Regions from separate parts of the Homo sapiens genome. Here region 2 is linked to region 1. The links are contacts of gene promoters, found by promoter capture Hi-C in human tissues and cell types (Jung and others, 2019). All regions are on one chromosome and are shown on one strand. Each heading gives the region's core, a stretch centred on a gene start or on the middle of the fragment in contact. The rest is flanking DNA. Distances are from core to core; before and after follow the strand shown. Region 1 holds the start of CHST3 (carbohydrate sulfotransferase 3). Region 2 overlaps DDIT4 (DNA damage inducible transcript 4).

Region 1 (3,142 bases), core at 454-2,953:
AGATGGGAGGGTTGATGGAACCAACCCCTCTCTCTGCTGCAGATCTAAAGTTATTCTTCAATTGAGACCCCACAGAATCTGCCAAACAGCCTGCCATCTACCAAAACCCACATCAACCCCATCTTAGCCAGATACAGAAATGAAGCTTTTCCTGCTGCCCTCTTAGAGGGGCAGAGGCCAATGATGAGCTCCAGTCTCCCAAGGCCAGCCCACGGGACACAGTGGAACACACAGTGCCTGGGCCACTGGCCCAAGCAGATCAGGCAGGGCTCCTAGGAGCTACTCAGGCCCCCTTCTCTGCTGGAAAATCAATTTCAACCCAGCAGAGGCCCACTGGCCTTGCCGCACAGTGAGTCCATAATGAATGATAATTACCGGTGTCATTATTCATCAAGCAAGTACTGACTGAGTGCCCACTGTGCCAGGCACTATGCTAGGCCCAGGACAATCCCCCGTACATCCTGGGGCCCAGCAACACCACGCATCAGAAACCAAACACAACTTCAGGTGCAAGGAAAATAATGAAGGCGTCAGGCCTGCCTTGGTTTCTCCCTAACCTTTTAGGCTTAAATCCCCCCACCTCCCCTTACCCCGTCCACACCCAGGACTGGAATCTGCTCACCCGGTTCCCTTGGAAGTCCCTGGAGGAAGCACATCCGCTGGGGGGAAGGGTCCCTGCTTCCCTGGAAGACTGTCACGGCCACTACCCTTCTGTCTAGCGCAGCAACGGCCTGCCAGCCTCTTCCACGCTGCTCACAGACCCTGGCACGCCGGCTCTGAGTTTATGAATCACTCCCTCCTCTCTCCGGGCCTCGCCTCCGGAAGGGCTTCGCACACTCACACATCACCCAGACACCGAGTTTCCACACCAAATTCGCTCCTGCAGAACTCCGAGAACCGACTGCAACATCTGCTCCCCTTGGTCTCGGGGTTCTGGCCACAAGTTTTCAAAACCCAGGCAGCCTCTCTCCTGCCCGCTGCGCTTTGGGGGCTCCCTCTCCTTGGGGGCTGCGGGGGCAGCAGACAAAGGCCGTGGATGTGACGGAGGGGTGTGAGGACGTGCCTGCTGTAGAGGCCAAATCCCCCGCGCTCCCAGGAATGTGCATTTCGGTGTGTGGCATGTGCCTGGCCGGTGTGGGTGTGCGCAGATCAGCCTGCGCCGTGTGCGGGGTATGAGTGGCGATGAGCTGTGTGTACCTGGCAGGTGTGATCCGGTTGCAGCGGGTTGTGGGTGCCTGCCTGGGCTTTTCCCCGAGCTGGGAACTCCACCTCCCACCGTCCGCTTCGCCCCCTTCTCCCTCCAAAGTCTGGCGCGCGCGCCTGGACGCGGAAGGCGGGGGCTCCCGGCTGGGCGGCCTCCCCCGGGCTGGGCGGCGGTTCCAGGACGCCGGCGCCCCACTTACCCCGGCCGCCGAGACTCCACCGGCGGCCCCGACCCTCCGCGGCTGGGGTCCGGCGCGGGCAGCATCCGCTCGCAACTTCGCTTTCCTCCTGGAAGATCCCGGCAGAAGCGGTTCCGCGGCCCCGGCGCCCGCGCGGCCCGAGCTGTGCGTCTTCTCCGGGGCGGGCCGGAGGGATGGAGGCGCTGCGGGGCCGGTCGGCACGCTGGAAGGGAAGCGGCGCCAGGCGGGCGCCGTCCTGCGCAGCGAGCCTGCGAGAGGTCCTGCCTGGCGCCCTCCCCGCTCAGGCCCGAGCCGGCTAGCGGCGGCGGATTCCTGAACCGCGTCCAAGGCGTCCGGGAGCCCTTCTCCTCCTCCTCCTCCTCTTCCTCACCCCACCCAGCTCCCACCCCTGCGCGCCCGGCAACTTGGGAACCGTTGGCGAAGTTGGCGCTGCTCGGGCCGCGAGCCGGCCGGGCCTCTGGGGGAGGAAGGGGAGGAGAAGGAGGAGCTGGCGGGAGAGGAGAGGAGGGGAGAGAGGGGAGAGAGGGGAGCCGCCCCCGGGGAGCCGCTGTCTCCAGGACCCCTCTGCGGGCCTTTGTTCCGGGCGCTGCCCCTCGGCCCTCCAGTCCCCGGGGACTCGCTTGGGGCCGCTCGGGTATCCACGCTCTCCTGGCGAGGCTGGTGGGTGGAGGCTGCTTGGAGAACCCCCTTGGCTTCTCCGTGCCGGAGCGCCCGGGGCCGTTACGGCCGCCCCCTCCCCCGACCTTTGCCAGGGAGACCCTCTGGCTGCACGGGTTCCCCATCATCTCTGCCCGGAGAGGATCTTCCTGCTCCCCCCTGGGGCAAGTGGGCTGGAGGACGGTTTCCCTGGTTCCAAAGAACAGAGCACCGTCTCCCTGGGCGGCAGCAGGTCCCACATCCGCCCTCCTGCACTTTCCTGCGCCGCCAGCCAGTCCAAGGCTCCCCTAATTCAAGAACTGGGAAACGGGAGGGACAGAGGGTCTTCCCGGCCCGCCAGGGCTGCCTGGCATTATCTTCGGACCCTCCCAGGCAGCTGGGTCTCCGGCCGGGCTGCCAGGCAAGTGGGGTCCCAGTCGCCTCCCGTGCATGGCGTGGTCGGCTGGGCAGCACCGGCTGCGGGGTGCAAAGGCCAGCTTCTCGAGGGATGAGGTAAAGGGCTCAGAACTGGAACACAAACCGAACCTCCCTGTTCCTTTCCGAATCCTGGTGATGGCCCTGTCCCCGAGAAGGCGAGAACGTCTTGGATTCCACTTGCTGGGCATTCCTCCTGGGACTTCCAGTACGTAACGTCATGAGCTAATTCAGGCCTAAGACAGCACTCCTGACATTTAATGGGATAGTATGGGGTTTAGACAATAAGTTATTTCCTGTACAGGAGAAGTAGGAAAATCCAAAAAAGCTAAAACCTGATTATCTACACTTGGCCTCCCTCTGCCATTCTCAGCATTTACAGATGGACAGCAAATAGAGAACCAGATAGAACTAATCCTGACCCTGTTAGGGACAAGTTGCCCCAGGAACCCCCCGCCCCACACACAATGCAGCTGACCCTTACCCTGAATACTCCGAAGCTGCATTCCTGGACCCTTATCTAGGTGCTACAGCAAGGTCACCAGACTTGCTTACAGCCCAACAGGCAGCATGGGGAAGGTCACGAGAAATGTGGATAAACTTAAGTTACACCCTCTTCTAAATTCCTATATTGTAAGCGGTCACGAGATGATATGTGGTAAAGTTAA
Region 2 (3,142 bases), core at 452-2,951, 310 kb before region 1:
GCATGACCCAAGGCTCGGACAGCCAATGCTTAGTTAACCACTATGTGCCAGGCCTCAGGAGAACCTAGGGGTGTTCTATAGAGCTAGGGGGATATAAAACAAGTGCATACAATGAGATCATTGTATGCCATGTTTTCACACTGCAATTGTGAAAGATGGGGGGAGGGAAAGCAGAAAAGAGCCATAAAAAGGCTGGAACTTGCTCTAGGCCTTAAAGGAAGGACAGGGCTTGCCAGCAAAACTCAGGAAGATATCCTTGGTGGAAGGCACTAGAATGAGCGGAGTCTGCGGCTAGAGAAAAGGGCAGTCCAGATTGACTTGCCCCCAGTTAAGGGGAATGGTGGGAGGTAAGCCTCAGTAGGGAGTATAGGGCCCAACACCAAATGTCCTAAAAGACCAGCAGTGGAATCTGGCAATAGGGAACCATTGCAGGTTCTAGAGCATTGACCCGATGAGGTGGGAAATAGGAATAAGAGAGGGAATCCTGTAGGAAGGGAGGTAATCAGTACATATTTTCCAGGCCAAATAGGGCAATCTTTTTCCTTTCCTTTCCTTTTTCCTTTCCCCTTTCCTTTCCTTTCTTTTTTTTCTTTCCTTCCTTTCTTTATCAGATAGGGTCTCACTAAATAGGACAATTTCTGAAAGCATTTACCAAAGTTGATTTTATGTGTAGGTCTTTATAAGCTTTCTTAGCTTTCCTGCTTAGCAACAAAGAAGCCTGCCCCATTTTTTCTTAGCAAGTCCGGTACCTGGGGCAAAGCTCCCTGCCATGTCTTAGCAGACCTCAGGACCCAGAACTGTCTTGGGCCTCAGCAACCCTCTTCCCTTTACTGTGAGACTCAAGCTCAGGGCTCCCACTTGCGGACCCTTCTGTCCTGCTGCAGGAGGATTTTCAGGCCCTGTGAGAATGAGGGAAGCCAGTTTGGCTCTGGGAGAGGGCATCTCAGCTGAGCTAGCTTGGGAACCCAAGCTTTGATTTGGCCTCAGTCTGACTATCTAAGAAAAGGTACGGTGCTGGGCTCAGCTGCCTCCTTGGCTTGGAGAAGGGCTAATGCTGACCAATCCATCCAGCTCAGGCCCCCAAATACCAACAAGACTCTGTACTCTGAAGACAATTGTTTCCTTGCTTCTCTTTTGAGACTGGGGAGGCAGGGTCGTGAGCATTGGCACAGATCTCAGTTCCCGGGAAAGTGCCCTTCAGACTCAGCCCAGGTGTCAAGCTTGCTTTACTCCCAGCCCTGAATCTCAATAGGCTGGGAGTGGACAAAGTCAGCCCTTATCCAAGAAGATGACCATTCCAGGGCTTGGGCCTCCATTTACTAATCTGTAAAACATTAAAAACCCCTGCCGCCACCCACCCCTCACAGGGTGGCTATTAGGAGGATGTGCTAAGAAAATGGGTGTGAGGGCTTTCCTCACACTGGTCTGGGCACCTTCTTCACTGTTCTCACTATCCATTTCCAAATGCACTTCTAATCCAAGTTTATCCATTTTGGGGAACAAATCACTCAGTTCTACCAAAGAGAGATGGGTCTTCCAAGTCATCGTAAAGTTTAGGACCCTCTATTGGAATCCCTGATGTAAATGCAGATTCCTGGGGCCCTGGCCCGGATGCACTGAGAATCTCCAGGAGGGCCCATGTGATCTGATTACACACGCTCAAGTGCAAGAGCCACTGTTTTAGTCTTGAGCAAACAAGGCCTGTCTGGGACCAGGAAGAGAAACAAGGGAGATAAAAACTCTCCAAATGCCAGTTGGTGTGGGTGGATGTAATTCCAGGGAAGAAGGGGGAAAGGCCCTGGGCTTCATCTGGCCCAACTCCAATTTGCCAATTTTTCTGACAAGGAACTTAGGGCCCAGAATGCACAATGCATCTTTTGTTTTTAGAGACAGGGTCTTGCTGTCACCCAGGCTGCAGCCTTGAACTCCTGGACTCAAGCAATCCTCTGGCTTCAGCATCCCAAGTGGCTGGGACAACAGGTCACAGAGGACGTCTGGGTGACCCAAGGTATCGTTAAGGTAGGCCTGCTATTTCCTTGCTCTCTAAGCCCTTAGCACTCCTTCCCTCACCTGTGTGTGTGCAAGGAGTTCTGCACCTGCCTGGTCCAGACTTCCTTCCAGTGGCAGCTCATGCCCCTCTTGGTTCCTTGTCCAGTGAGAGGCATGAGCTAAGTAGCATTTTTCAAACTCCCCCTCTTAGTCTTTTTAAATCCAGAGATAAGATTTGTAATTTTCATGATGGTAGAACAACTGATTTTTTTCTCCCAGAAAGAAAAAAGGTATTTTCTAGTTCTTTCACTGTTTATTAAAGACCTTGGGCTCAGTGGGCCCTCCTGTCTGGGCCTTCTAACCGGGGCAGCCAGGTGAGCTCTCCCTCTGGAGACTCTGGCTCGGTGGGAGGTCTGACTCACCCCCTACCTTCAGGGGTTTCCAGTGTGTTCTCCTAGTAGCTTCAGCCAGCACAGGGCCAAGGGTTCTTGGCACAGATGGCACACGGTACACATACCTCTGTCACCAGGCTGGCAGGCAGTCCCGGAAAGGGATGGAGGAACACACAGGTGGACCCCAGGGCCTGATGAGACCTGCCTTTCACTAGCACCCATCTCCCTCCTTTTCACTTCATGGTACTGATGAGAGACTCAACCAACTGTTTTAACAAACATGTTTATTAGAAAAGTAAAAAATATTGCATAGGTCTTAATACTTGAACATCAAGTGTATTCATGAACAGTGAGTATCTTATCTTCATGTAAACAGTTCTAGATGGAAGACCCAGATGGCACTCCTCCCGGGGAGGGGTTCCAGCCCCCACCCTCTCAGCCCCTCCCCTGCCAGCTCAACTCTGCAGTACACGATGGGGGAAGGCTTAAACGCAGCTGCCAGGTGTAATTTTTCAAGTGTCAAAGATCCCAAGTGATCCCTGACACCCACCCCTTCCTACTCTTACATTCATGCGTCTGTAAGATAGCTGCCTACAACAGGTCAGTAGTGATGCTCCGATCAGAAAAACAAGATACAAAACAAACAACAAACACACTTGGTCCCTTCAGACCAGTAAGATACACAAACCACCTCCACGACCTCCGACCTCCCCCCTCCCTCCGGCTGCTCTGAGGAGCACGTGCCTCTTCCTTCACCCTGG

The links. Contacts are between HindIII fragments. The study calls those that stand out against the background at their distance.
Region 2: a fragment that was not itself captured here is called in contact with the fragment with the promoter of CHST3 in region 1 in 1 of the 25 tissues and cell types used here (dorsolateral prefrontal cortex).

Annotation. Positions count from the first base shown.
Region 1 is chr10:71,962,956-71,966,097 of GRCh38, reverse strand. CHST3 (carbohydrate sulfotransferase 3) reads right to left here and starts at 1,703. Exons shown (of 3, transcript NM_004273.5): 1 at 1,404-1,703. The HindIII fragment of the contact is 9,967 bases long and covers 1-3,142 here.
Region 2 is chr10:72,275,543-72,278,684 of GRCh38, reverse strand. It overlaps DDIT4 (DNA damage inducible transcript 4), which reads right to left. Exons shown (of 3, transcript NM_019058.4): 3 at 2,649-3,142. Among named protein-coding and RNA genes, the nearest start is that of DDIT4, 3.2 kb to the right of the region's middle. RefSeq lists an enhancer at 2,595-3,118. The HindIII fragment of the contact is 3,010 bases long and covers 197-3,142 here.